7 separate regions of the Homo sapiens genome follow, and regions 1, 2, 3, 5, 6 and 7 are each linked to region 4. The links are contacts of gene promoters, found by promoter capture Hi-C in blood cells and fetal thymus (Javierre and others, 2016). All regions are on one chromosome and are shown on one strand. Each heading gives the region's core, a stretch centred on a gene start or on the middle of the fragment in contact. The rest is flanking DNA. Distances are from core to core; before and after follow the strand shown. Region 1 holds the start of JPX (JPX transcript, XIST activator). Region 2 overlaps JPX (JPX transcript, XIST activator). Region 3 holds the start of CHIC1 (cysteine rich hydrophobic domain 1). Region 4 holds the start of CITED1 (Cbp/p300 interacting transactivator with Glu/Asp rich carboxy-terminal domain 1). Region 5 overlaps JPX (JPX transcript, XIST activator). Region 6 overlaps FTX (FTX transcript, XIST regulator). Region 7 holds the start of ZCCHC13 (zinc finger CCHC-type containing 13).

The links. The method cuts DNA at HindIII sites, captures the fragments that hold promoters and counts their contacts. A CHiCAGO score of 5 or more calls a contact.
Region 1: a fragment that was not itself captured here is called in contact with the fragment with the promoter of CITED1 in region 4 in 7 of 17 cell types (naive B cells, total B cells, monocytes and 4 more); the score reaches 10.6 in naive B cells.
Region 2: a fragment that was not itself captured here is called in contact with the fragment with the promoter of CITED1 in region 4 in 2 of 17 cell types (naive CD4 T cells and total B cells); the score reaches 6.8 in naive CD4 T cells.
Region 3: the fragment with the promoter of CHIC1 here is called in contact with the fragment with the promoter of CITED1 in region 4 in 7 of 17 cell types (total B cells, naive B cells, total CD4 T cells and 4 more); the score reaches 14.4 in total B cells.
Region 5: a fragment that was not itself captured here is called in contact with the fragment with the promoter of CITED1 in region 4 in 2 of 17 cell types (total B cells and naive B cells); the score reaches 6.6 in total B cells.
Region 6: a fragment that was not itself captured here is called in contact with the fragment with the promoter of CITED1 in region 4 in 6 of 17 cell types (total CD4 T cells, total B cells, fetal thymus and 3 more); the score reaches 11.5 in total CD4 T cells.
Region 7: the fragment with the promoter of ZCCHC13 here is called in contact with the fragment with the promoter of CITED1 in region 4 in 2 of 17 cell types (neutrophils and naive B cells); the score reaches 11.9 in neutrophils.

What each region holds. Positions count from the first base shown.
Region 1 is chrX:73,942,182-73,944,881 of GRCh38, forward strand. It overlaps JPX (JPX transcript, XIST activator), which reads left to right and starts at 2,143. Exons shown (of 5, transcript NR_024582.1): 1 at 2,143-2,284; 2 at 2,403-2,481. RefSeq lists an enhancer at 2,168-2,267. The HindIII fragment of the contact is 2,079 bases long and covers 384-2,462 here.
Region 2 is chrX:74,003,366-74,006,252 of GRCh38, forward strand. All of the region lies in intron 3 of JPX (JPX transcript, XIST activator), which reads left to right. Among named protein-coding and RNA genes, the nearest start is that of JPX, 60 kb to the left of the region's middle. The HindIII fragment of the contact is 6,389 bases long and covers 1-2,887 here.
Region 3 is chrX:73,561,610-73,564,559 of GRCh38, forward strand. CHIC1 (cysteine rich hydrophobic domain 1) reads left to right here and starts at 1,588. Exons shown (of 6, transcript NM_001039840.4): 1 at 1,588-1,971. The coding sequence starts at 1,676. It also overlaps the pseudogene MAP2K4P1. RefSeq lists a silencer at 1,508-1,567. The HindIII fragment of the contact is 6,151 bases long and covers 1-2,682 here.
Region 4 is chrX:72,304,471-72,307,217 of GRCh38, forward strand. CITED1 (Cbp/p300 interacting transactivator with Glu/Asp rich carboxy-terminal domain 1) reads right to left here and starts at 1,444. Exons shown (of 3, transcript NM_001144887.2): 1 at 1,355-1,444. It overlaps LOC105373250 (a long non-coding RNA gene), which reads left to right and starts at 1,632. Exons shown (of 3, transcript XR_938441.2): 1 at 1,632-1,750. RefSeq lists a silencer at 2,429-2,723 and an enhancer at 2,450-2,499. The HindIII fragment of the contact is 8,247 bases long and covers 1-2,747 here.
Region 5 is chrX:74,020,177-74,023,000 of GRCh38, forward strand. All of the region lies in intron 3 of JPX (JPX transcript, XIST activator), which reads left to right. Among named protein-coding and RNA genes, the nearest start is that of JPX, 77 kb to the left of the region's middle. The HindIII fragment of the contact is 3,239 bases long and covers 1-2,824 here.
Region 6 is chrX:74,129,949-74,132,723 of GRCh38, forward strand. All of the region lies in intron 5 of FTX (FTX transcript, XIST regulator), which reads right to left. It also overlaps the pseudogene DDX3P1. Among named protein-coding and RNA genes, the nearest start is that of MIR421, 87 kb to the right of the region's middle. The HindIII fragment of the contact is 973 bases long and covers 770-1,742 here.
Region 7 is chrX:74,302,773-74,305,801 of GRCh38, forward strand. ZCCHC13 (zinc finger CCHC-type containing 13) reads left to right here and starts at 1,408. Exons shown (of 1, transcript NM_203303.3): 1 at 1,408-2,262. The coding sequence starts at 1,495. The coding sequence ends at 1,995. The HindIII fragment of the contact is 8,144 bases long and covers 1-3,029 here.

The DNA.
Region 1 (2,700 bases), core at 173-2,672, 1.6 Mb after region 4:
ATCCGCCCACCTCGGCCTCCCAAAGTGCTGGGATTACAGGCATGAGCCACCGTGCCCGGCAGGTTTCACTCATTTTTATCCCCCTTTCTACTTACCATTAAATTACTACAGAGGGATGTTTTGTACCTGCCCCAAAATAAATGCATGGTGTGCTACTGCCAAAAGAAAATATGACAGAATTTACAGTCATATTTGCCTCCTCTGCAACATTCAGACTTGATCCTTCTTTTACCCTACATTGTCTATCTGATTCCCTACTCTTTTAGTACTAGTTCTTTCTTAGGAGCTCAACAGTTCCTTTTGCAATTGGTTTTTGGTGCCTGTCCTACAAATTTCCAAGATGTGCTCAAATATGCCTAAACCCTAGGAGATGAAACAGTTTAAGCTTAGAGACCTCTCCACCTCTATTACTGACCTTTGAACACGTAACTGGTTTTATGTGGTGTTTTTGGTGTTTTACTCCAAAATGTCCATATGTCAATGCCCAGATGTTTTATACAACTGTGTATCATTACCTTCCTTTTGAGGGTGACGATATCAAAATAAAGACAGAAAAGTAATGATGCAAATGAATAGAATAAGAGGTGTTCTATGTGGGGGTCTCGTAGAAAACCAGAGACAACATTAGTGCATAGAGAGAAACTATAGCTTTGGAAAGGGATTAGGACCTCTAAAGTGTCTTTTCCTTACCGGTGAAGCACAAGCCTTCCCCCAGAAACCTGCACCACTCACACATAATGCTTCACAAACAAGTTTTGGCCTCGGTTTTTTCATACTTTTGGGGCTGGTATCCAGCTAGTGTATTTTCCCTCATGGAGCGGGAACAACAGAGATAAAGGTTTTGATAAATATAGAGGCCTCTTAGAAGTGTCAGGACTGAATCTAAAAGAGCTGAATCTAAAAGAAGAGGGAGGCTGGGTGCGGTGGCTCACGCCTATAATACCAGCACTTTGGGAGGCTGAGGCGGGTGGATCACTTGAGGTCAGGAGTGCAAGACCAGCCTGGCCATGATGGTGAGACCCCCGTCTCTAGTAAAAATTAGCTGGACATGGTGGCAGATGCCTGTAATCCCAGCTACTTAGGAGGCTGAGGCTGGAGAATCGCTTGAACCCAGGAGGCGGAGGTAGCACCGAGCCAAGATCGCGCCACTGCACTCCAGCCTGGGCGACAGAGCAAGACTCCGTCTCAAAAAAATAAAACAAAAATAAATAAAAGAAGAGGGAAGATGGAAGGACTTTTAGGCTCAAGAGCAGCATCTCAACTCTTTTTTTTTTTTTTTTTTTTTGAGACGGAGTCTGGCACGGTCGCCCAGGCTGGAATGCAGCAGCACGATCTCAGCTCACTGCAACCTCCGCCTCCCGGGTTCAAGCGATTCTCCCACCTCAGCCTCCCAAGTAGCTGGGATTACACTGAGATTACAGGCAAGCGCCACCACACCTGGCTACCAACTCTTTTATGAAGACTCTTTTGTTTACAGAATTAAAGGAAGCACCTTGTTCTGAATCCAGTTTTGCCATTGACGGACTCACTGTATGACTAGGCCAAAACCCTCTGGTTTCTGTTTTCCCATTAGTTGGTTGAAGTACATACACCCTCATCTATCGGAACACGGGGCTTAGTAAAGTGAAAAGAAGTAGGTTCTAGCTCATTCTAGCACTTTTGGAAAATTGGGTCACCTCTTTGGGCCTTAATTTCGTCATCTATAAAACAGGAAAAAATCAGTCCTCAGCTTACCTGATGTTGCAATGACTTAGTGAGATAACAGAAGTGAATGGCAGCTTTGTCTATCATACTTGTGAGGTAAAGTTAATGAGAGTGAGAGATCTGGAAATAGGGAAGAAAGAAAGGAGTCGAGGCAAAGCTAAAAGAAATTTGGGTTGGGAAAGGAAAAAAGAAATGAAGAGAAAGAAAAAGGAAAAGGGAATTTCAAAAGAGATAAAGGCTGTGAGAGGAAGTGCAACAGGTCAGGAAACTGGGGGAGGGTCCACGGCAACGGCTGCGGCACGGCAACGGCTGCGGCACGGCAACGGCTGGGGCACGGCAACGGCTGGTGCATGTTGCCGGCGGAGGCATTTAGGTAGTGCACGACGGCTGGGCGCCGGGCCTGTTTGGCTGTGACGCCCACCCCCGGCTTTCATCCGCCTATGCCCTAGGGCTAGTGGAAGACTTAAGATGGCGGCGTTTGCACGGAGTGCAATCACTGCGTCCTTACGGGGGTTGCAAGGCGTCCGAAGTATGAGTCCACTAACAAAAGTCCAGAAACTCGCCAGTTAATAGTATTGTGGTGAGTGATGAGCCTCACGTTGGCTAGAGAAGTGGCCGTTAGCGAGGCTACACACTTTGGGATCGCGTGGCCTGAGTCGGGGGAGTAACCGGCCTGTATTCCATTTTTCTCTCTCCAGTCTCTTCAAAATATCGGAGAATAATTTCTTTCTCGCTGATCGCCTAACTTCTACTGACGAAGCTTGGAAGTTGCAGAAGGTAGCTCCTAGGAGGGATATATGGGTCGTTCTTTCCTTTTTCCTTATTTAAATGGGTTTTTATTGACACCATGTCGCGCCAAAATGGATTCCATCTCCTCAGAGCTTTCCTAGGAACAGCCTAACCTCTTGGGCCTAACTTTATTTTTTTTTTGTTCTGCCTTTCATGTCCAGACTTATTAGTTTTAATTAATTTGTTTGTAACGTATTCATTATGCAC
Region 2 (2,887 bases), core at 218-2,717, 1.7 Mb after region 4:
CTCACTGCAACCTCTGCCTCCTGGGTTCTCCTGCCTCAGCCTCCCGAGCAGCTGGGATTACAGGCATCTGCCACCATGCCTAGCTAACTTTTGTATTTTTAGTTGAGACAGGGTTTCACCATGTTGGCTAGGTTGGTCTTGAACCCCTAACCTCAGGTGATCCACCCTCCTTGACCTCCCAAAGTGCTGGGATTACAGGCATGAGCCACAGTCCCCGGCCCAATACTTAACATCTTTGCATGATAAAAACCTGAACAAGTTAGGTATAAAAGGAAGATGTCTCAACACATTAAAGGCCCTATATGACCGGCCCAGAGCTGAAATCTTAACACCGAAGAGTTGAAGGCTTTTTCTCTAAGATCAGGAACAAGACATGGATGCCATTTTTTCTCCTTCTGTTCAGTGTTGTACTGGAAGTCATAGCAAGAGCATTTAGGCAAGAGAAATAAAAGACATCTAAGTAGGAAAAGAAGAAAAAACTTGCCTCTCCTGATTATCTTATCTTATAGCTAGAAAACCTTAAAGACTCCATTAAAAAAAAAAAAACTATAGAACTAATAAAATGAATTCCATAAAAAGTGCTACGTACAAAATTGACAATTAAGTCTGTAGCATTTCTATACACTAACAAACAACAATCTATCCAAAAAAGTAATCAGGAAACTAATCACATTTACACTATTTACTAAGTAAACAAACTTATGAATGAATTTAACCAAGTAGGTTAAAGATCTGTATAGTGAAAACATTGATGAAACGAATTGAAGATTACAAAAATAGAAATTTTTCTTTGTACATGGATTGGGAAATTTATATTGTTATAATTTTCATACTGCCAAAAGAAACATACAGATTCTGTGTAATCAATATTTCAATGTCCTTTTTATTTTTATTTTTTTTACAGAAATACAAAAAAAATTCTAAAACTTGTATGGAACTACAAAAGACATTAAATAATCAAAGTAATCTTGAGCAACAAGGACACAGCTGGAGGCATCACTCTACCTGATTTTGTAATCCATTATCAAAAAACTGTGGTACCAGCATAAAAACAGATTCACTGACCAGTGGAACAGGAAAGCCCAGACATAACTCATACATTTCCATCCAATTGATTTTTGACAAAAGTGGCACACAGAATGGGGAGAGGACAAATAAATAAATAAATTGTTTTGAGATATCTGTATATCTATATGTGAAATTGAACCATTTTCTCATAGCATATAGAAAAATCAACTCAAAATGGATTAAAGCCTGAAATGTTGCCTTTGAAACTGTAAAACTACTAGTAGAAAATATAGGGGAAAAGCTCTATGATGTTGTTCTGGGCAATGATTTCTTGGATACATCCTTAAAAGCATGGGCAGCAAAAACAGCCAGACAACTATCAGGGAACCTGCCCAGATAGTCACATAGGTTCTTTTCTATTTTCCCTAAGCATTGGCCGGGTTGAGAAATAAAGGGACAGAGTACAAAAGAGAGAAATTTTAAAGCTGGGCATCCTGGGGAGACATCACATGTCGGTAGGTTCCGTGATGCCCCCTGAGCCGTAAAACCAGTAAGTTTTTATTAGGGATTTTCAAAGGGGAGGGAGTATACGAATAGGAGGTGGGTCACAGAGATCACGTGCTTCACAAGGTAATAGAATATCACAAGGCAAATGGAGGCAGGGCGAGATCACAGGACCACAGGACTGGGTTGAAATTAAAATTGCTAATGAAGTTTCGGGCACCATCGTCATTGATAACATCTTATCAGGAGACAGGGTTTGAGAGCAACCTGTCTGACCAAAATTTATTAGGTGGGAATTTCCTCGTCCTAATAAGCCTGGGAGCGCTATGGGAGACTGGGGCTTATTTCATCCCTACAGTCTCGACCATAGAAGACAGCTACACCCAAGGGGGCCATTTTAGAGGCCCACCCTCAGGGGCACATTCTCTTTCTCAGGGATGTTCCTTGCTGAGAAAAAGAATTCGGCGATATTTCTCCCATTTGCTTTTGAAAGAAGAGAAATATGGCTCTGTTCCGCCTGGCTCACCGGCGGTCAGAGTTTAAGGTTATCTCTCTTATTCCCTGAACATTGCTGTTATCCTGTTCTTTTTTCAAGGTGCCTAGATTTCATATTGTTTAAACACACATGCTCTACAATTTCTGCACTTAACACAATTATCACAGGGTCCTGAGGCGACATACGTCCTCCTCGGCTTACGAGATGACAGGATTAAGAGATTAAAACAGGCATAGGAAATCACAAGGGTATTGATTGGGGAAGTGATAAGTGTCCATGAAATCTTCACAATTTATGTTTAGAGATTGCAGTAAAGACAGGCATAAGAAATTATAAAAGTATTAATTTGGGGAACTAATAAATGTCCATGAAATCTTCACGATCCACGTTCTTCCGCCATGGCTTCAGCCAGTCCCTCCGTTTGGGGTCCCTGACTTCCCGCAACAGACAACTTGAGTTGCATCAAACTAAAAAGCATCTGCACTGCAAAGGGTACAGTTAACAGAATGAAGACACGGGTTTTGAGAAACCATTTTCAAATCATATATCTGATAAGGGGCTAATATCCAAAATGTATTAAGAAACCCAAGCCCAATAGCAAGAAAACAACTGTCTTTAAAAGGGGGAAAAGGACCTCAACTTAAATTTTTCAGAGGAAGACATGAGTGGCCAATTGATTGATACATGAAAAAAATGCTCAACATCTCTAATCATTAGTGAGTTGCAAATCAAAACTGCAAGATATTACCTTACACCTTTTAGAATGGCTATTATTAAAAGGATGAAAGACAGGTGCTGGCAAGGATGTGGATAAAAGGAAGTCCCAACATTCTGTTAGTGGGAATATAAATTAGTATAGCCAATTTAGGAAACTATATG
Region 3 (2,950 bases), core at 338-2,837, 1.3 Mb after region 4:
TTTTAGTAGAGACGGGGTTTCACCTTGTTAGCCAGGATGGTCTCGATCTCCGACTTATTTTTAAAGTTCCCTAAATAAACCAACTTTTGAATAAAAATGGGCTTTTCATTTTAATAACACATACTCCTTGATGATAATGGTTTGATTCATTTCTCTTACAGAACTAATTTCTTCCTACTTCACACACATTAAATGCTTTGTTTATACTGATAATGTCGTGCTCATCCTAAATTAAAGTTTGACTATGTCTGTTTCCCCAGAGACACACCATCTGATTGGGATGCAGCCGTAGAGTAGCAGAAAGAGCAGTGAAGCTGGTATTAGAATGCCTGGATTACAGTGTTTGTTCTGTTACTTAGCAGCTGTGTGACTTTACTGTCTTAATGATATGGATTTTTGTGCTGCTGCCAAGTATGAAACAGTTTGGCACACTATTTAGATACGCAAAATATGTGATCCCCACAACATTTTAGTGAGTGTAAAGAAGATAGGATAGACCATTTAAAATGGAAAATTTTGAACAAAAGGTCACCATAGACTTGAATAAATTACTTAAACTTCTGAGACCCACTTTTGTCATGTAATAAAATAGATATAATGATACTTACCTCTCAGGATTAAGGGTTAACTGAAATATTGTATGTGAGGGTCTAGCTCAGTGTCTGGAAAATGGATGATGTTAATTAAGGTTTCCTTAGGTTGGAATGCTCCTTTCACCCCCTCCATCCGCCCCCTCCCCCAAAAAACACTCCAAAATTCAAACATGCATATTCTGATTCATCTTTTAAGGAAGAGCCCAAGAGGCACCATTCTACAAAATCTTTCCAAACAACTTCAGGCAGTACAGCCCTTTGGTTAAGAGTACTGGGCTTCTGGAATCAGAAGAGACCACCAAATTTAAAACCAGGTCTCCCATTTAGTAGCTCCCTGACACTGGACAAATTACTTATTTTCTCTGCACCTAGATTTCCCATCTGTAATATAAAATCATCATGATACATACCTCATAGGGTTGCAGAGGATTAAATGAGATATACATACAGAGCACTTAGCACAGTCCCTGAGTTAATAAGTCCTCCGTTAAGTATTACATAGGAGAAGTAGTAAAAAGTTTCCTCTTAAGTAAAATGCTAATAAAAGTGCTTACCCTGCCTCCCAAGATTGTGGCAAAGTTATGACGCAAGGCTTTTAAACTGTAATGCTGAACAAACGTAAGGGATTGGTATATACCTTGAGATATTTTGGACAAAGTTCTAACCTTACTTTTATACAATATGCTTTCTCTCACCCGCCTGCAGTTGGGTTAATAATGCCCAGCATTAATTAATAAGCAATAAAATCAGAAGATACCCCGAATACAAGTAGCTGACGCTCAGAGAGCAGTATTAAGGCGAGCACCCGCAGACCGGACCTGGATAACTCCTTGGAGTTCACCTCTAGCGGCCCCCTCCCCTTGGAGCTGCGCAAGCGTACACTGACTTTGCTCCTCTCTAGTGCCCCCGCCTCCAGCAGCCGCCCCCCCACCCCCCCGTCTGCCCAACACGCAGGCGCGTCTCCTCAAATCCTGTCCCTACACCCCTCCTCTTTCTCTTCATTTCGTTCCCCCTCCTCTTGCAGCACCTCGGCAGGTTCAAACTCTTCTCCGGGAGCGTGGCGGCGATCGCGAGGTCACGTGATGAGCATCCTGCTGCCCAACATGGCGGAGTTCGACACCATCTCGGAACTGGAGGAGGAGGAGGAAGAAGAAGCGGCAACGTCGTCGTCGTCGCCGTCGTCGTCGTCGTCGGTATCTGGGCCCGACGATGACGAGGAGGATGAGGAGGAAGAGGAGGAAGAGGAGGAGGAGGAAGAAGAGGAGGAGGAGGAAGAGGAGGAGGAAGCGCCGCCCCCGCCTCGGGTAGTGAGCGAGGAGCATCTGCGGAGATATGCTCCCGACCCTGTATTAGTGCGGGGTGCCGGCCACATCACTGTGTAAGCGAGAGGGGGTCTTGGGACTTGAAATGCCTGAGATTTGGCAACAGAGGAATGAGAAGTGATCGAGGGGCCTGTGGAGTGGGGGAGGGTTGACTGATTGACTGAGGCGTACACTTAGGAAAGGACACCTGGTCTAAATGGGGAAACCATGGGTGGATACGTGTGAAGGAAGTGAGGAGAATGTAAATATGATGCACCAATGCCAGGTAAAGAGTGAGTATAGGAGAGGGAAGTTAGGGGTTTGGGAGCCAGAGCGATTGGAGTAGGGGTGAGTCTCCTTTCTTGTATGTATGCTGGCAAGTGAACAGTCTCTAAACTGCAGGATGTACCAGAGGGTTTTTTGCTGACAAGATTGATACTTTGTGGGAAACAGCAATTGCTGTGACATGTGACAAGAACTAGGCTTGCATTCTTCAAAACAGAAACATGATATATTTTGTGAATAATAATAGAATGTTCATTCACCCACGTATTCATCCATCCATTCTTCCTATCGAATCCTTCCTTATATATCACTCGATTAGAGGTTCAGGATGAGAGGCAGCTATGGAAAGTAGAAAAAGAAATGGATTGAGTCAGGGCTCTTAGACGCTGGTCCCGGTTTTGCTTCTTACTGGCCCTGTGACCTTGGTCAGGTTGCTTTTTCTCATTTCTGCGCCTTGATTTCTTCATCTCTAAAATGAAGGGTTTGGAGTAGATGGTTTCTAAAGCTTTTCAGTTCTGAGATAATTTACCTCCAAGGGATTTTGTATGCCCAAGTATGAAATATACAGGCATTAAATATATATGGAAATTAATACTTTGGGAGCTGAGCATAATTTCTTTAAAATTTATCCAGGGTGGTTTTTTAAAAAATTGAAATCTTGAGGAAAAATTGAATATTTCAGAAAATAAAATGGGGAGGGACTTCATAACAGCTACAAGGCAAAAATGTTGATGATTCTCCGGGATTTAAAGAGTGCTTCCTCATTTTTAT
Region 4 (2,747 bases), core at 194-2,693:
TCTAACACATGTCGTCTTCAAGAGCCCTAGCACAATCAGTATCAGACAATTTTCCTGTCCTAAGAAAAATGTCTGGGGGCCCTGTCCATCTTTTCCTGTTCCTATCCAGCCTTCCCTCTCCTTTTTGCCGCTTGGTACCCGAATGTACAAAACGAAGAAAAAACAACAGGAGCAGCAGCAACAACAGCAAAACCAAAAGAGAAACATTAGAAAAATCAAAAGAGAGAACGAGCAAAAAAACTCTCTCTATTCTGATATCAGTTCGTGGGGGAAGACCATTTTACCGCGCCTCCCTCTTCAATCTGGGAGCTCCCCCAGAAGAGGCCCTGTGTCCATTCAGATCTTCTGCCTTCCATTACTGACCCACCACCCACCCTGACCCCAGCCTGGGTCTGCGCTCAATAGGCGCTCAGTAAGTGTTGTTGAATGCGTCTGAAGAAGCAATCGCATTTCCATCGGCATCCCTGGCTCTGCTTCCCCGGCTTTCTGCCCTCCTCCACCACCCTCTAGCCCGTTCGTGGGCAAAACTTGGCAACGCGGAAACGTCCCAGCCCGCTCTCCAAGCCGCGAGCTGACCACTGCGAAACGGCTGCGACAGGCGGCTGGGAAACCTAGAGCAACAAGTGCCTTCTCGCCGGCTGATGCCTGGCGGCCCCCCGGCCACCAGTTCCCAGTCCCGCTGCCCGCTCTTCGCTTCAGGCCTTCCCTTGGGCGAGCAGCCCCCTCCCGCCTAGACAGGGGTGGGAAGGGGAGAGGGAAAAGAGAAGGGAGAGGCAGGTGGGGGCCTCATCTTTAACCTGTTGGGGGACCAAAAGTTAAAATGGCACCAACCGGATGGTTCCATCTCGATTGCTATTTTCTCACTCAGAAGGAGAAATTTAAAAATCCAAACAGCACTGCGGCTTGGCTTGGACGCGCTCTAACCAGACCAGTCAGTTTCGCCACCTGAAAACTAAAGGCCCGTTGTTTGCGGACAGCTCGGCTGCCCTCCTCGCCGCATCCCAGATGGAGCCGCGGAACCGGGGGCGGCCGGGAGCATCCCTTGCACGGCGGGCGCGTGCACCCAGGCCACCGGGGCCCTGAGCGTCCGTTCCCGCAAGTGCTGTATCAGGAACTGATCTTAGAGACAGGATGGACAGGCAGGAAGGGGCACGGGGTGTCGGCCTCCGCGGCGAGTCCGCACTCCGGCGCCGGCTGCTGCCACTCTCGCGCCTGATCAACACTTACTGAGCGCCCGCTGAGCATCCGACGCGGCAGCAGGCTGAGCCTACCCCCTAGCCAAGCCGCCTGCGGTCAGTGCTAAAACCCCGCTAGGAGAAGAGTGAGAGAGGCTCGGAGAGGTGCGGTAACTTGCCCAAGGTCACAGCGCTAGAAAGTGGCGGAGCCGGGATTCGCAGCCAGGTCTCTCTGACTCCAAGTCCGGTGCTCTGCGAAGCAGGGACTCGGCGCGCGGCTCGCCAGCCCGCGTTTATAGGGAGAGGGGTGTGCGCGTGGGTGTGTGTGTGTGGGCGTGTGTCGGGGGAGGGGAGGGCTGAGGTCGACTGGGCAGTAGAGGCAAGTTGCCCAAATTCGCTAACTTCCATCCCGCAATTCCGCTGAACTCGGCCCGAAAAGCCCCCTCTTGCCTCAATTCCCCGAAGTAAATCTGAGCTTTGTGCAGCTCCGGAGCCAGAGCGTCCAGATGCGGTCCGGGAGATTAGCAAAGTCGGTGGAAGCCAAGCTGGAGAAAGCGCGGGCGCAGGGAGAAAAGGTGCTGCCGTCTCCCCGGGAGAAGCGGGCACCCGGCCCCGCTGGCCGGCAGGGGGGCGCGCTGGCAAGCGAACCCGAGCGCTGGCGGGCGGGCGGGCGGGCGGCCCCTCGCCCCCAGCAGAGCAGCTTTCCAACAGAAAGCAAGTCTCCCCAGAACCCTCCGGCCCGCCTGGCGGCCGCCCACTCCCCATACCCGCTCCACGGGAGTCCTCGGCCCCGCCGCCCAGCCCGGCGCCCAGCCCGGCGGCCCGGCTTACCTCTGAGAAGCCGCCTGCCCTGGAGAGAGGGAAGCGCGGAGCTCGGTGAGCCGCAAGAGAGGCGGCGGAGCCCCCAGCCCCTGGCACGCACGCCGCCGCCACCGCTACCGCGAACCGGTCGCGCTCAGCGCCCGCGGCCGCGCCGTTGGCCACCCGACCCCGGGGCGCCTGGGAAAAGCCCGCACCGCGCCGCGCCGCCGCTGCACCGCACAGTGCCGCGCCAAGCAGCCCCTGACCGAGCTGGTGCCCGCCCGCCCGCCCGCAGCTTCGGCGCCGGACTCCGGGGCGGTGGCGGTGGCGGCCACCGCGCTCCCTTCCCGGCGCTGGGGACCCGGCTCTCAAGCCCCCATTGCCGCCCGGAGAGCCCTGACGCACACGCACACGGCAGCAGACTGGCCTCGGCTAGGAATCCCAGGAAGGACAGACCCTTTTTTTCCCTTTTTTTTTCTCCCCTCAATTTCCACGTCTTTATAACCGGCTTAGGGCATTATTAGCACATGTCCTGGCTCGTGGGCGAGTTGGTGGCAAAATCTGAACTGGATACTCACGGAGGGCCCGCGCGGGTGCTGTGCCGTCCGCTGCTCTCTTCCTCCTCACCGAGAACTGCCCCTCGCCGGCGGACTACAAGAGGGCAGCCGGGCAGAGCGAGCTTCCTCTCGGCAGCTCAGCGGTGCCCCTTCTGCAGCTTTGCCGCCGGGCACATTTTTATAGCAGCGGCTGGCGTCTGTGGCCCTTTAAAGG
Region 5 (2,824 bases), core at 78-2,577, 1.7 Mb after region 4:
GCAAGTTGGATAAAAAAGACCGAACTGTATGCTGTCTTCCTGAAACCCATTTCAGAAGTAATGGCACCCATTGACTCAAGGTAAAGGGATGGAGAAAATTCTACCAAGCAAACAGAAAAAAGGAGGAGGGACAGATTGCTATTCTAACTTCATAGAAAATAGACTTTAAAACAGCAATTGTCAATAAGGACAGAGAAAGATATAATCATGAAGAGTTCAACTCAACAAGAGCTAACTATATATGCACTGAACACAGGATCATGCGCGTTCATAAAAGAAGTTCCTACAGACCTATGAAGAGACTTAGATAAGCAGACAATAAGAGTGGGAAACTTCACTACCCCATTGACACTATTAGATCACTGAGGCTGAAAGCTAAGAGATATTTTAGTCCTGTACTTGACACTTGACCAAATGGACCTATCAGACATCCATATTAATGTCCACCCAAAACCACCAAGTACACATTCTTCTCATCTGCACATGGCACATACTCTATAGTTGACTACACAGTGGGCCATAAAACAATCCTCACCAAATTCAAATAACAGCAAAATCATACTAAACAGATCTTTGGACCAGAGCACAATAAAAATAGAAATCAACACGAAGATTACTCAACACTATACAATTACATGGAAATTAAGCAACTTGATCCTTAATTATGTTGGCATAAATAATGAAGTTAAAGCAGAAATGGACAAGTTCAATATCTCAATTTAACAAGCTAATATAACAAACAGAGGAATTAGAAAACGAGTACACTAATTCCAAAGCTAGCAGCAGACAAGAAATAACTAACCAGTTTTGAAATTGAATCAGTAATAAAAACCCTACCAACCCTACCTGGACCTGATGGATTTATGGCTGAATACAACCAGATATGTAAGAAAGAGCTGGTGAAATTCCTAGTTAAGCTATTCCAAAATATCAAGGAGGAAGGACTCCTCCCTTAATCATTTTATGAAGCCAGCATGATCCTGATACCAAAACTTGGCAGAGACACAACACAAACTTGAGACAAATATCCTTGATGAACTTAAAAGGAAAAATTCTCAAGAAAATACCAGCAAACCTAATCCACTTGCATATCAGAAAGCAAATTCCCCATGATTAAGGAGGCTATATTTGTGTGATGCAAGGTTGGTACAACATACAGAACTTACGAAAAAAATGTGATTTATCACATAAGCAGAGCTAAAACCATGTTCATCTCTATAGATGCAGAAACTATTTATTTAACATTACTTCATGTTATGAACCCTCAACAAATTAGGCATTGAAGAAACATATCTCAAAATAATGACCCATCTGTTACAAACTCACAGCCAACCTCATAATCAACTGGCAAAAGTTGGAAGCATTCCTTTTATGACCAGAGCAAGTCAAGGATGCTCAGTGTCACCACACCTATTCAACATACTACTGGAAGTTCTAGCTAGAGCAATCAGTTAATAGAAAAGGCATCCAAATAGGAAAAGAAGTAAAACTATCTCTGCAGACAACATGATTTTATACATAGAAAACCTCAAAGCCCCAAAGCTCCTAGATTAGATACAAAACTTCAACAAAGTTTCAGTATAAAAAGTCAGTCTGTAACTTAGCATTTCTATACAGCACCAACATCAAAGCTCAGAATTGAATCAGGAAGGCAAACCCATTCACAATAGCCACAAAAAGCATAAATCACCCAGGAACACATTTAACCAGGAAGGTGAAAGATCACTATAAGGAGAATTACAAAACACTACTGAAGGAAATCATAGATGACACAAATAGGAAGAAATGACATTGTTAAAATGGCCATAATCCCCAAAGCAATTTATACATTAATTGCTATTCAAACTACCAATGACATTCTTTGCAGAATTAATACAACCTTTAAAAATTCATATGGAGTGAAAAAGTCCTAATAGCCAAGGCAATTCTAGACAAAAAACAAACTTGGAAGCATAACATTACCTGAATTTGAAAGTATTCTACAAGATTACAGTAACCATAACAGCATGGTACCGGTATAAAAGTAGACATGGAGGCCAATGGAGCAGAATATAGAACACAAAGCTGTACACCAACAGTCATCTGCTTCTCAACAAAGTTGACAAAACAAGCAATGAAGACAGGACTTCCTGTTCAATAAATGGTGCTGGCATAACTGACTACGTATATATTCAAGGTTGACACTGGACCGCTTCCTTACATTACATATAATGACTCAATATAGATTAAGGGCTTAAATGTAAAATATAATACCATAAAAATGCTAAAATATAACTTAGGAAATACCATGCTGAACATAGGTTCTGAAAAATATTTATGATGAAGACTCCAAATGCAATTACAGCAAAAACAAAAATTGACAAATAGAACCTAGTTAAACTATAGAGATTCTGCACAGCAAGAGAATCTATCAATGGTGAACACAATGTACAGAATGGGAGAAATATCTGCAAATTATGCATCTGACAAAGTTCTAATATCCAGAATTTATAAGCTACTTAAATTCATGGGGAGAAAACCACATTGAAAATATGAAAAAGTACATAGACATTTTTTCAAAGGAAGACATGCATACAGCTAGGAGTCATATGACAAAATGCTGAACATCACTAATCTATAGAGAAATGCTAATTAAAACCACAATGCAATTCTGTCTTACACCAACCAGAATGGCTGTTACTAAAAAGTCAAAAATAGTACGTTGTCGAATCTACAGATAAAAGGGAATGCTTATGGATTGCTCGTTGAATTGTAAATTATTTCATCCATTGTGGATAGCAGCTTGGTGATTTTGCCAATAACAAGAACATCAAACAGAAATACC
Region 6 (2,775 bases), core at 6-2,505, 1.8 Mb after region 4:
CAGGAAGGGAGAGAAACTGAAATTGAAAGGAGAGAGATTGAAGGGAGGCAATAGAGGTTAGGTAGAGAGCAAAAACACTGCTTACCCGAGTGCAAATAACTGCTTACCGATTTGAAATTGGTGAAATGGTCCTTGGGCTGGCTGGTCTGATGACCTGAGGTCGTAGGTGGATCTCCTCACAGAGGTAGCATGAGGACAGGGGACCAGTCTCCTGAAGGAGTTCCCCTGTCCCGGGTCTTCAGCACCAAATACTATGTGTGTCCGTATAAGAGACCACCTGAGCAGGCTTAGTGTAAGCAACAAGGCTGTTTATTCACTTGGGTGCAAGTGGGCTGAATCCAAGAAAGGAGTCAGCAAAGGGTGGTGGGATTATCATTTATTCTTATAGGTTTGGGATAGGCAGTGGAGTCAGAAGCAATTTTTTGCAGGCAGGGGATGGATGTTACAAATACATTAACAAGGGCGGGGAGGGTGTATTGTCACAAGGGCGGGGAATGTTACAAACTACCTTCACAAGGATGGGGAATATCACAAAGTACATTATCACAAGGGCGGGGGAATGTCACGATGGCTTGACCATGGTGCGGCCAGCTCAGAGGACCTTACAGAGCTTACTTACTATACTCATCCTACTCCACTGCAAAACATGCCATTCCTATTATTAGGGGAAAAAAAGAGACTTAATGTCTTGTGCCCAAGCAGGGTCTGGGAAAACTGCAGCATTTCTTTTACCCGTACTGAGTCAGATATATATAGATGGTCCAGGAAAAGCTTTGAAGGCTGTGAAGGAAAATGGAAGGTATGGATGCCATGAACAATACTCAATCTCCTGGGTTTTAGCCCCAACAAGAGAATTGGCTGTACAGATATGAGGAAGTCAGAAAATTTTCATACCAGCCTAGAGTTCATCCTTGTGTAGTTTATGGTGATGCTGATATTGGTCAGCAAATTCAGGTCTTAGAACATGGATGCCACTTGTTAGTAGCCACGCCAGGAGGTCTAGTGGATTTGATGGAAAGAGGAAAGATTGGATTAGACTTCTGCAAATACTTAGTGTTGGATGAAGCTGATAGGATGCTGGATATGGGATTTGGACCTCAGATACATCTTATACTTGAACAAGATACTATGCCACTGAAGGGCATTCATCACATCATGATGTTTAGTGCTACTTTTCCTAACGAAATACAGATGCTTGCTCGTGACTTTTTGGATGAATATATCTTTTTGGCTGTAGGAAGAGTAGGCTCTACCTCTGAGACTATCACACAGGAAGTAGTTTGGGTGGAAGAGCCAGATAAACGGTCATTTCTGCTTGATCTCTTAAATGCACCAGGGAAGGATTCACTGACTTTAGTGTTTGTGGAGACCAAAAAGGGAGAAGATTCTCTGGAGAATTTCTTATACCATGAAGTATATCCTTGTACTAGTATTCATGGAGACCAATCACAGAGAGATCGAGAAGGAGGCCCTTCATCAGTTTTGCTTGGGGAAAATCCCAATTCTAGTGGCTACAGCTGTGGCAGCATGAAGACTAGACATTTCAAATGTGAAACATGCTTCAATTTTGATTTGCCAAGTGATATTGAAGAATATGTGCCTTGTATTGGCTGTACAGGATGTGTGGGAATCCAGGGTCTTGCCACCTCATTCTTTAATTAAAGAAATATGAATATTACAAAGGATTTGTTGGATATTCTTATAGAAGCTAAACAAGAAGTGCCTGCTTGGTTGGAAAATAAAGCTTATAAACACCACTACAAGGGTGGTATTCATGCATGATCTAAAAGATTCAGTGGAGGATTTGGTGCCAGAGACTATTGACAAAGTAGTGGTTCCAGCAGTTCTGGCTTCAGTAGTAGTCATACAAGCAGCAGCTGCAGTGGTGGAGGTGGTCATGGCAGCAGCAGCAGATGTGGTGGAGGTAGCTATGGAGGCTTCTACAACAGTGATGGATGTGGAGGAAATTATAATTCTTGTTATAAGAGTTATTAAGAGCTGGGCGCGGTGGCTCACACCTGTAATCCCAGCACTTTGGGAGGCTGAGGCAGGCGGATCACGAGGTCAGGAGTTCGAGACCAGTCTGGCCAACATAGTGAAACCCCATCTCTACTAAAAATACACAAAAAATTAGCCAGGCGTGGTGTTGTGCACCTGTAATCCCAGCTATTTGGGAGGCTGAGGCAGGAGAATCACGTGAACCCAGGAGGCGGAGGTTGCAGTGAGCCGAGATCGTGCCACTGCACTCCAGCCTGGGTGACAGAACAAGACTCTGTCTCAAAAAAAAAAAAAAAAAAAAAAAAAGAAAGAGTTATTAAGAAATTATTTTAAGCAGATAAGAAAAGGGGTCCTTGGGAAGTTCTTTTTTTTCTTTTAGAGCAACTCCAGAAACATTTCTTGTCTAGCAGGAAAGCTAGGCCAGCAAGCTTTGATATGCAAATACCGGCCATTAGAAACTGGGCCCACCCAAACATGGCAATTCCTGCAGTCTTATTCTTGCCCTGGCCTCCACATGTGCCTGGCAACACGGCCACCCCCACATATCCACACATGTGTAAAATATCATGGTGCCCTGCATTTGCATATTAAAAGGCTAGGGTGGGAGGGCCAGTTTTTTCTCAGGCTACGTGAATGACATGCTTGGTCAAACCAATCCCCTGAGCCCTATCCAAATCAGACACAAACGTCCTCCAGCCTCCTCATATAAGCAGCCACTTTTCTATCACACTTGGAGTTTTTCTCTTTGTTCGAATCCCCCTGCCTTCTGTCTCTGTA
Region 7 (3,029 bases), core at 158-2,657, 2.0 Mb after region 4:
CAGACTCAATATTTTTAAGATAACAATGGTCTCCAAAATGATCTACAGATTCCATAATCCATATCAAACACCCGTTTGCCTTTTTTTGCAGAAATTGACAAGCTGATCCTAAAATTCATATGAAAATGCAAGGAACTCAGAATAGTCACATCAAAAGAGCAAAGTTGGAGGCCTTACTCCTCCCAATTTCAAAGTATAATGCAAAGCTACAGTAATCAAGATTATGTGGTACTGGTATAAAGATAAACACACAGATATAGCTATTAAATAGTATTTAGGTAAATATATGAGAAACTAAAGAAATAAAGAATGACAATAACTAACTCCAGAGAACATAAAAACCATGCAGGTAATGAAGTGATCAGAGTACTCTCCAAATGGCTCAGGCATGAGTATCATTTACATACTTATAATTATAAAAACATTGAATATTGTCCCAACCAATATTAAGTGAAGGGAGGCATAGTTGGAATGAGGAGTTTGGACTGTGCAAGTGCATAGGGTGGGTGGTAAAAGAAGACTAAATGTTCATCCTCCAAAATGGAAAGACACAGATAATGTCTAAAATTGAAACATCAAAAAGTCATAGTAGCCAGCATATGATTGTGGTTCCAGCTACTCAGGAGGCTGATTGCTCAAGCCCAAGAGTTTGAGACCTGTCTGGGCAACATAGCAAGACTCCTCCTGTCTAAAATAAATAAATAAATAACTCGTAATATAAAGATATGTTTACACATATGCCTCTAAATAGTATGCTTCAAACTATGAGTTCCAATTATTTAGTGAATTAAGAAACCCAGGGGACAGAGCAAGATCATGGGATAGAAGTCGACACAATTTGTCCCCCTCACCTCCACTGGAACACCAAATTTTTTTTTTTTTTTTTTTTTTTTGAGACAGAGTTTCCCTCTGTCGCCCAGGTTGGAATGCAATGGCGCGATCTTGGCTCACTGCAACCTCTGCCTCCCTGGTTCAACTGCCTCAGCTGGGATTACAGGAGCCCGCCACCATGCCCGGCTAATTTTTGTATTTTTAGTAGAGACGGGGTTTCAACATGTTGGCCAGGATGGTCTCAATCTCTTGACCTCGTGATCCTCCCGCCTTGGCCTTCCCGAAGAGCTGGGATTACAGGCATGAGCCACCGCACCCGGCCGACTAAGTCTTAAATTATGAAAACTTCTACAAGTCTAATTTTCTAAATAGGAAAGGATTCAAACTCAATGATTCAAGTGTTGAAACAAACAAAAACGGAAAACAACACTACTCAGTTAACAGATTATTGTGCTTTTGGCTTCTTGAGTAGGAGGAAAGTCGGGCGGGAAGGGCGTCAGGAATGTCCGTGACACGTGAATGGGGCCGTGTGCAAACCTTGTATGACATCACTGAGACACCTAGCGGAAAACAGCTAATTCTTTCTAAGCCGCCCAAAGCGGGGTTGCGCCGGGGCCTCCGGGGCCGAGGTGGGCCTGCTCATTGGAAGATCGCATCGCAGCCATGAGCAGTAAGGATTTCTTCGCGTGTGGACACTCTGGCCATTGGGCTCGGGGATGCCCTAGAGGAGGAGCTGGAGGGCGAAGAGGTGGAGGCCATGGCAGAGGTTCTCAATGTGGTTCCACCACCCTATCTTACACCTGTTACTGCTGTGGTGAGTCCGGTCGTAATGCTAAGAACTGTGTCCTTCTCGGAAACATCTGCTACAACTGTGGGAGAAGCGGCCACATCGCCAAAGACTGTAAGGATCCTAAACGAGAGAGACGCCAACACTGTTATACCTGCGGCAGACTAGGACATCTGGCTCGTGACTGTGATCGTCAGAAAGAGCAGAAATGCTACTCTTGCGGCAAACTTGGGCACATTCAGAAAGACTGCGCCCAGGTCAAGTGTTACCGATGCGGCGAGATTGGCCACGTGGCCATCAATTGCAGCAAGGCGAGGCCAGGTCAACTGCTACCGCTGCGGCAAATCCCGACATCTAGCCAAGGAATGTCCCAGTGAGGTTACCACTTAAATCTTCCCCCCCACCCCCCACCCTTTTGCTGATTGATAATTGTATTATTTTCTCCGAAAACTTCACTCACCGAAAGGTCGATAGATTGAGGCTACTCTCAGGCAAGTGAGCTTTAATTACCATGTTAAAGGAGGAAAGAGCTAGAAAAAAAAACCTCAAAAAAGTTAATCATTGGTAGATGCCCCACAATTAACGTGTTGCTTCTGCCCCACGGGCAAATCTAGTTATTAAATAGTCATTCTGAGCACCAATCACTTAAGGGGTTCTTTTGTTGTATTTTGATTTAACACATTTAATTAAGAGGCACTATTGGAAGAGCTGGATCTAAATGGTGAACAAATTAGAACAAATTTAGAAACACAGGCCTAGAATCTATTAACAAGAAAAATAGTGTGTCAGATGAAGGTAAATTGCCATAGAGAGAAAGAACAGGAGGTAAAAGGATAAAAAGAGAATGTGTATGTGGGGGAAAGAGGGAAAGAATGTGGTTCTGTTTTAGATACACAAGGGCACCCTGAGGAGGTTATATTTCCTCAGAGATCCATAGGGCAAATAAAGCTGATTCTGAAAATCCATGACCTTGCCAAAGTAACTTAAATTTTATCATATTGATGGCTTTGAATTATCTGGCCTCATTAGGTTTTAAACAACATTGAACGAGACATCTCTGTCTGGCCCTGCATAGAGTGTGTAGTTTAATGAAAATAAACCAGAAACAAAATGTATAATGTATATGAGCTGCTTTGAGAGAGAGAGCAATCAGAAAAAAACAGAAACAAAAAATCTTAACAGGCCGGGCGCAGTGGCTTACACCTGTAATCCCAGCACTTTGGGAGGCCAGACCAGAAGGATCACTTGAGCCCAGGAGTTTGAGAGCAGCCTGGGCAACACAGTGAGCTTTTCTCTACAAAAAATACAAAATTAGCCGGGTGTGGTGGCGCATGCCTGTAGTCCCAGCTACTCTAGAGGCTTAGGCGGGATGATTGCTTGAGCGCGAGAGGTCAAGGCTGCAGTGAGCCAT